2 separate regions of the Homo sapiens genome follow, and region 1 is linked to region 2. The links are contacts of gene promoters, found by promoter capture Hi-C in blood cells and fetal thymus (Javierre and others, 2016). All regions are on one chromosome and are shown on one strand. Each heading gives the region's core, a stretch centred on a gene start or on the middle of the fragment in contact. The rest is flanking DNA. Distances are from core to core; before and after follow the strand shown. Region 1 has its middle 24 kb from the start of KIRREL1. Region 2 holds the start of CADM3-AS1 (CADM3 antisense RNA 1).

Region 1 (4,421 bases), core at 1,402-3,901, 1.2 Mb before region 2:
ATGACTACTCCACATGCAAATTCTGGTCCTGTGAATCTAGGAACTGCTGTGGACTGAATGCATGCATTCCCCAAAACTTTATTTGCTGAAGCCCTAATCCCCAATGTAATGGTATTTAGAGGTGGTGCCTTTGGGAGGTGATTAGGTCATAAGGGTGCATCCCTCATGAATGGGATTAGTGCCCTAAAATACACAAAAGAGATTCTCTCTCTCTCTCTCTCTCCACCATGTGAGGACACAGCAAGAGATCCAGCAAGAAGCTCAGAACCCATCTGCTGAAGCACAGAAGAGGGGTTCAGGACCCATCTGTTGAAGCTCAGAGAGTGGCTCAGGACCCCATCTGCTGAAGCTTAGAGAGCGGCTCAGGACCCCATCTTCTGAAGCTCAGAGAGGGGCTCAGGACCCCATCTGCTGAAGCTCAGAGAGGGGCTCAGGATCCCATCTTCTGAAGCTCAGAAGAGCGGCTCAGGACCCCATCTTCTGAAGCTCAGAAGAGCGGCTCAGGACACCATCTTCTGAAGCTCAGAGAGCGGCTCAGGACCCCATCTGCTGAAGCTCAGAGAGCGGCTCAGGACCCCATCTTCTGAAGCTCAGAAGAGCGGCTCAGGACCCCATCTGCTGGCACCCTGATTTTGGACTTTCAGTATCCAAAACTGTGAGAGATACATTTCTGATTTTTAAGCCATCCTGTCTATGGTATTTGTCATAGCAACCCAATCTAACCAAGAATCTAGTGTATATCTGTGGGCAGGTTCCTAAACTTATCTTTCGTTTTCTTCAGCTATGGAACGGGGTAAGAATAATAAGAACAACCTCTTAGAGGATTAAATGTGGTAATCTGTGTAATGCACTGAGCACCATGTCTGGCACATAGTAAGTGCTCAATCGCTCTGTTGGCCTTTGTTATTACCATTATTATTATCATTAGGTGTGACAGCAGCAGTAGTATCCTGTAGAAGTGGACCTCTGAAGTTGAGTATTGAAGAGCAGGTCACACCCACAAACACGTATGCACACTCACCTTTACTGGTTAACCTGGTCTGAGGTAACAACATCCTCTCCAATATCCCCTCTCCATCACCACCACCGACATCTTTAGTCAGAAGCAGGTGGCAGTGATGGACATTGCAGCAGGCCTGAGCTGCCACCATCTTCTCTCTTCTCTACACACATGGAGCGTTTGCCTCGCTCAGGTCACTCACCCACCTCAGGCCTCAGTTACTTCACTACAAAACCGGAGCAATAATACTATTTAATGACCCGAGAGCTGGGCCAGAGAGTCCTTCAACTTCCCCTTCCGTGCCAACGCCTTTGATTCTTTTCTCCAACTGTCATCACCCCCACTCCTTGTAGCCTTCCTGGACCATATCCCTGAACTGGTCCTACATGACTCATGGCCTGGGTTCCAGGTGGCCTGGAAAGAAGGGGAGGAGCTTCAGATGTGGCCTGAGTTTCCTCTGCCTCCCCAGAGGCCAAACAGACATCTGTTCCTGTGGCTGTCACGTCAGCACAAAATGTGTGCCAAGGGAACAGCAGGAAGAAGAGTGTGTAAATCGGCTGGTTTTCTGTGTGTGTTTCAAACTGCCTTGTAGAGGCACAGAGCCATTGTTGGGAGGAGATCCCTGAACGGTTGTTGACCACTGAGGCGCCCACCCTCCTTCATCAGCTTGCACAGGGGACTGTGAGGCTTAATAAGCTGATTGTCATTTAGATTATCAAGGGTACAATTCTGGGCCCACAGGTCACAGCTCTGCCTGCTCTGCCTGAGCAAGCCTGAGGAGGCTGGGAAGCTTTATGTTCCACTCTAGAAAAGAAGACATGATTTCCCATCTTTCATAATCAAACCAACTCATACTTATTCACAGCTTGGCAGGCTTTCAGCACTGTGTGAGCATCAGTCAACTCTTCATTCGATTCATTCCCTGGCAAGCCTCTGCCATGAGCAAGAGGCAGGTCCTAAGACATGTTTACTGTGCAGTCTGTGCCTTCTAGAATCGTACAGACTATTAGGGGAGATAAGACAGAGGTGCTGCAAAAAGATTGTGTAAAACAACAGGTATTGAATGTGGTGAGGGTCAATTGAAAAACAACAGCTCTCTGATGACAATCAGCAGACAAAGAAAAGACTTGTTACATCAGAAGCTTTCCTTACCCACTTTCCAGCCTGGTGGATGTGGTCTTAGCCTTGGATATGGCAGATGCTTTAGAAAGAGGTCAGGGTTCTGACCACTGAATCAGGGTGAACTGGACAGCTATGGAGGTGAGAAGAGTGCAGTAGGAGAGAGTAAGGATGATACTCACCGTGTAGGTCTGTGAGCCAGTTCGACTGTTTCTAGCACATTTATAGAAGCAAGGAGAGCTGGCCTGGTGGGACAGAGCATAAAGATGGGGAAACTGTGAGGCTTTTTGCTCCTCTCTTGTAAGATTTCTGATATTAAAATCAAAACAAATATTCATTGCAAACCTATTTATATGTGTCATGCACTGGGTTAGGGACTTTCATTCTGTTATTTAATTTTCTCCTCACCGCAGCCCTTTGGATATGTTTTACAATTCCTACTTCCCAGATTATTAAATTGAGGCTCAAAGAAGGAAATGATTCATACACTGGTTAAGTGTTGAGCCAGAATATACAGCCAGGTCTTCTAAAACCTGCCTCCAAATTTCCTCCCCTTGACCATCCTCCACTAGGTGGCCATAGTGAGCCACTTGAAACACCAAATCCCATCATATTGTTCCTTAGCCTACAATCCTGCAGTGGCTCCTGGTGTTGCCAGGACAAAGTCAAAACCCTGGGTATGGCATACAAGACCTTCTACATCCAGCTAATTACATTTTCAATCTCATATTCCATCTAATCCCTGCCTCACTGTCTGCACCCAATGATAAGAAATGCTATCATTTATTGAGCATCTACGATGTGCCAGACACTGTCCCAAGCACTTCACGTGAATTGATTTGTTTCCTTCTCATGACAACCCTATGAGGCAGACACTATGATATTCCCCACTTTATGACTGGGGAAACTGATTCACCTAGTGGTTTAGTAATGTGCCCAAGGTCACATATCTTGCAGAGAGTCTGGGAGTCACACCCAGGCAGTTCAGCTCTTGAAAAGAAATGCTGCTCTCTTTGTGATTTCCACACACAACAAGCTGTTTCAAGCTTCCATGATTTGATTTATATTCTCCCTTCTACTTGAAATACCATTCCCTTCTTTCTTCCCCTGGATAAAAATCACTTATCTTTCAAGACTTGGTTTAGGACTTATCTTTTCAAAGTATTTCTGTTAGTCCATTTCACATGGCTGTAAAGGAATGCCTGAGGCTGGGTAATATATAAAGAAAAGAGGCATATTTTGATTCATGGTTCTGCAGGCTGTATAAGAAGCATGTTACTGGCATCTGCTCCTGGTAAGACCCCAGGAACCTTCCAATCATGGTGGAAAGTAAAGGGGAAGTCAGTGTATCACATGGCAAGAGAAGGAGCAAGAGAGAGAGGGGAGATAGTGCCAGGCTTTTTTAAACAACCAGGTCTCATGTGAACTCACAGAGTGAGAACTCACTCATTGCCACAAGGACAGTATCATGCCATTGATGAAGGATCTGCCTTCATGACTGAAACACCTCCCACCAGGCCCACCTTCAACATTATAGGTCACATTTCACCATGAGATTTGGAGGGGACAGAACATCCAAATCATATCTTTCAGACCCTGGCTCCCTAAATTTCATGGTTTTCTCACATTGCAAAATACAACCATCTTTTCCCAATAGTCCCCAAAAGTCTTAGCTCATTCTAGCATCCACTCAATCAAAAGTCCAAAGTCTCATCTGAGACTCAAGGCAGGTTCCTTCTATTTATGAGTCTGTAAAACCAAAAACAACCTATTTACTTCCAAGATACAATGGTGATACCAGTATTGGGTAAACATTCCACTCTGAAAGGGAGATACCAGCCAAAAGAAAGGGACAACAGGCACCATGGAGTCTGAAACCCAGCAGGGCAATCCTTACCTCTTAAAGCTCCAAAACAATCTTTGACTCCATGTCCTGCATCCTGTGCACATTGATGCAAGAAGTGGGCTCTCAAGGCCTTGGACAGCTCCACCCCTGTGGTTTTACAGGGTGCAGCCCCTGTGGCTGCTCTCACAGGTTGGAGTTAAGTGTCTGTGGCTTTTTCAGATTCAGGGTGCATGCTGCCAGTGGCTCTCCCATTCATGGGTCTAGAGGACAGCGGCCTCCTTCCCACAGCTCCACTAGCCAGTGCCCTAATGCAAACTCTGTGTGGGGGCTCCAATCCCACATTTCCCCTTGGCACTGTCCTAGTAAAGTCTCTCTGTGGGGGTTCTGTCCCTGTGACAGGCTTCTGCCTGGGCACACAGGCTTTCTAATACATCCTCTGGAATCTAGGCGGGAGCT
Region 2 (4,467 bases), core at 1,148-3,647:
CCTATCATTGCCAACCCTGTGATAACTGAGCACCACCAACCCCGCAGTAAAGCCTGATCACTTGGGGATCGTCCAAGTGAAATCAAACCTTCCCACTCAGTCAGCGGTTGCTCCCATGCTGCTCTACCTCCAGGTCTCCTGCTGCAAGACAGAGAGCTCCTGAAACTGCATCTCCATCTCATTGCTTCCTGCGCTTTCTTCCTTTCTGTCTGTTTAACCTCATTTTCTTTCTCCTTTGATCTCATTGCCTTTCTTTCCTCTCCCCCTTTTCTACCTTCTCTCTTATATCCATGCCTTCTCTCTACCCTCTTCTCACATTCCTTCCTCTCAGACTTCCTGCTCTGCTATTAATTCTAGCCAGCGGCCTGACTCCATAGGCTGGTCATACATAAGCCAGATCTCAATTGCTTTGCTCATGAAGCTGACATAGCAGATCCCCCGTCACCAAGTTGCGTGCACACGCATGCATACACACACACACGCATGCGTGCAAGCACACACACACACACACACACACACACACACACACACTTCTCTTTCTTGCTTTGTATTATAGATGAGATTCTACTTAGGGGTAGGATTCATTATTCATGAAGGGTGTGGTCAGGTGAGGCATGTTGGAAGCAAAATGCGAATTAGGTAAGGTGGAGTAGAAGAGAGCTATTGGCAAGAGAAAAATTACTTGAGCAGTGTGTGAGTGGGTGGGTGAGAAAGTGGGCAGGGTGGACTCAGAGGTTGGGAAGCTGCTCCTGAGAGGAGAAGCCTCTGTCTCTACACAGGAACCTACCTGACACATGAGGCAAAAGGCTCCGACGATGCTCCAGACGCGGACACGGCCATCATCAATGCAGAAGGCGGGCAGTCAGGAGGGGACGACAAGAAGGAATATTTCATCTAGAGGCGCCTGCCCACTTCCTGCGCCCCCCAGGGGCCCTGTGGGGACTGCTGGGGCCGTCACCAACCCGGACTTGTACAGAGCAACCGCAGGGCCGCCCCTCCCGCTTGCTCCCCAGCCCACCCACCCCCCTGTACAGAATGTCTGCTTTGGGTGCGGTTTTGTACTCGGTTTGGAATGGGGAGGGAGGAGGGCGGGGGGAGGGGAGGGTTGCCCTCAGCCCTTTCCGTGGCTTCTCTGCATTTGGGTTATTATTATTTTTGTAACAATCCCAAATCAAATCTGTCTCCAGGCTGGAGAGGCAGGAGCCCTGGGGTGAGAAAAGCAAAAAACAAACAAAAAACAAAACCCTGGAGTGTTAGGAGGAGAGTGAAGGTAGAGGGGTGAGGAAGGGTAAGGGGCAGGGCTGGTTTCAGCTGGGGGCTCTCACCAGCCCTCCTTTCAGCCTCTACAACAGAGCAGCTTCCCAGACTTCTCCAGGAACCCAGAAACGGGATGGTTGTCGGCAAAGGTTGGGAGTGGCTTTTCCTCTGGTAGCCACACACCTGAGCACTACGGACAGGGAGGCAGGTGCCACCTTGACACCTCTCTTCCATAGCAATGGGAAAGTGATGAGTGCGGGAGTCCTGAGGAGATGTGGCCTGCAGACAACATGCAGCCATGCAGGGACCCAGGACTGTAACCTGGGGAGGACGCGGGTCCCTGCAAGGAAGAGTAGATTTGGAGAGGAAGGATGGAGGTGGACTCTCACCCCATTCCCCCCGGAAATGAACAAAGCCGGGCCCTTTCCATAGGAACTGCCCTTGGAGATAGCAGAGTGTGGCTGCCCCTCCTTGCTCCAGCAGCAGTGGGAGAGGCACTGCTCTGGGGCCTGAACTGCCTCTGCTTCCCCCCCTGAGGGGCCCCTCACTCTTACCCAAGACTCTGGATTGTTGCACGGCAACCACTCCTCCCATGGCATTGCTCAGCAACTACTTCTCCCTTCCCGGCCACCCTGTGCCCCCTTCCTGGTCCCAACGCCAGCCCTTCATCCTTCCTCCCTCAGCAGCCAGGCAGACATAACAACAAAACTACTAAAAGGAGCTTCACTGCAGTGAGCTGTTTCCTGCCCAAACTAAGGGAATAATGTGAACTGTGTGCATGTGTGTGGTGTGTATGCATGTGTGCATGTGTGTGTGTGTGTGTGCATGTGTGTGAGTGAGTGAGAGGCAGAGCGAGGAACTGAGGAGGAGGGCTAAGAGCCAGGGGTCCTGGGCAAGTGGACAGGGCTGTGGGACATGTTGGGGAGGCTTTGGGAATGGGGTATTCCTAGTCAGGGTTCACACCTCACCTGGGATGTTGTTCCATGCTGGTATTTCCTCTGCCACCCCCAATGCCCATCGGTCTTGGAGAAAGGAGTCCCCGGGTGTGTGTTTGCCCAGCTGTCCATTCTATCTCTCCCTTAAACACAGAGCATTCAGCCCTTCCCTGGATTTCCCTCCTCTGAGCCATGGAGTCAGTGCCACAGCCTTTGCTATGCACCTCTCAGGCCTCTCCTTGGCGTTGACCCTGGAAAGACCTACCACCACCTATTTTTTCCCATAGTCTGTACCCAGTGAGTTGAAGGCTGGGTCCCCACCCTTCCTTTTGATTTCCTGTCTTCCTTCTCGTGGCCCCAGCTGGTTGCTGTGGAGATGAGGTTCCTGGTCCTCCCTGTCCTGGCTGGACTGCCCCGCCTCAGATCCAGGATGCCCTTGGCATCGCTCCCACCCTCCCCCAGCTTTTCCTCCCTGGTCTGACAATGGGCATGCAAAAAGGGGCAGCTGCAATCTAGCAGGCCTGCCCACCCCCTTCAGTTCAGGTAATACAGTTGTGAATCTTCCAGCCGCTGGTTAGGGCCTTGGGCACCACAGGCAGCCCCTCACCTAAGCCGGGGCCTACTCCTCTTACAACAGCAAGAGAGCCCTGGGGCCCCAGGCCTGTTGAGCTTCTTGTCTCCCAGCACCCGCTTTTGGGAAAATGACTTTTCCTCTTCAAGCTGAACCACTCTGTCCATATTACACAGAAGCCATATTTGTACGGGGGGGTGGGAGGGAGAGGGGCTGTTGTGCTGTGTGTGTCTGTCCAGGGGTGGGGGGGTGGGGGAAGGGAGCAGGGAGGGGACCGTGTATCTTTATAATCTTTCTAACTCTCCTGTGCTAATCTCAGAGGGGTCACCCTCAATATATCTGGATTATCCGTGTCATTCAGCTGCCTCCTTTCTGGTCCTCTTGCTGCTGCTGGGATGTGTGTATGTGAGGGTCTTCTTCCCATACCCCTTGCACCTGGTGCCTGGTGCCTCAAAAGGTGGTGTGTCCCTTGCCAGGCCACTCTCAAGAATATCTATGTACAGCAACAATATAACTCTACAAGGGAGAGAAGTGTGTTCACTTCCTTTTGCTAAGCCCTTCCTTTCCAGAGAGTGTCTTGGGGGGCATCTGACTGCTTCCCCCCACCCTCTGCCAGGCATTGCTGGAGAATGTTAAGACGGCGATGGAGATGCCATCAACCCCACCCTGCAGAGCATCACCAGACACCACCAGACCAAATTCACTTTCCAGCCCCTTCATGTTGAACCTGAAACTTGAGCTAGTGTCTTGGGAGAAAAGGGGGAAATCTCTACGAGGTACCCATCCTTCTGCACCTTAGGTCTGAGGTGCTTGGCCCCCTAGGAAGCCCTACATGAATGGGACAGAAGGTCCTTAACAACACTGGAGATGAAGCAGCCGATGCTGTTTTGGACAAATGAAACAGCGTCCCCTAACCAGCCCTTTCTATCTCATTGTTCTGACTTGGACACGCCATGGCTCACCGCTCCCAAAGTCCCCACTATGTCTCCCTAGCTGAGGAAATAAAAGCAGAGAGGGGTGATGAAACAGTGACGATCCTGGGGAAACAGCTGAGGAGGGGAGGGAGGGGGAAGAAGCCACTAAAAAAGTGAAATGTGCTTGGGAGAATCGGCCTGCCTGCAGGGTAGATGCCCTTTCTCTCTGCTGGCCAGCTCTGCCCCTCAGTGAGAAACTTTACATATTGCTAAGATGCCTGGCCAATGAAACAGTTCCAGAGACTTTATGTCCCCCAGTAGAAATATGAATAGAAATCACCCTGTGGGCAATGGTCCCATTTTAAAATATGCTGTCCCATTGTCCCCTAGAGCCTACTTTAACTTGTCAGACCATGTATTCCACTTCATATGCAAGAGGCATGCACTGAGCCCATAGGTGGCTAGGCAAACACCCAATAGCTCCCTGAAATGGCTTCATTATGCAGCCTCGACAGCCACCCCAACCCTCCCACTCTCACACTGAAACACCCAGACCTAGAGATAGCTAGACACACCCAGACACCCGCCAAGCCCCTCACATACAGATATGTGCACAATGATACACAGCAAACGTACACAGAGTTCAGTACACACAAAGAGCTCACGCCCACGTGCACACACCCCTCAGTTGGGACAGAGTTGACCACCACCACCTTTCTCCCAAACACATGGCTTTTGAACTGCCTTTCCTTGGATCCAGTTCAAGGGGATGGAGGAGCAGTGAGAGTCA

What was found. The method cuts DNA at HindIII sites, captures the fragments that hold promoters and counts their contacts. A CHiCAGO score of 5 or more calls a contact.
Region 1: a fragment that was not itself captured here is called in contact with the fragment with the promoter of CADM3-AS1 in region 2 in 1 of 17 cell types (total B cells); the score reaches 6.7 in total B cells.

What each region holds. Positions count from the first base shown.
Region 1 is chr1:157,967,254-157,971,674 of GRCh38, forward strand. No RefSeq gene overlaps it. Among named protein-coding and RNA genes, the nearest start is that of KIRREL1, 24 kb to the right of the region's middle. The HindIII fragment of the contact is 1,023 bases long and covers 2,141-3,163 here.
Region 2 is chr1:159,200,025-159,204,491 of GRCh38, forward strand. CADM3-AS1 (CADM3 antisense RNA 1) reads right to left here and starts at 2,398. Exons shown (of 4, transcript NR_037870.1): 1 at 2,226-2,398; 2 at 788-1,597. CADM3 (cell adhesion molecule 3) reads left to right here. Exons shown (of 9, transcript NM_001127173.3): 9 at 780-3,289. The coding sequence ends at 898. The HindIII fragment of the contact is 9,224 bases long and covers 1-4,467 here.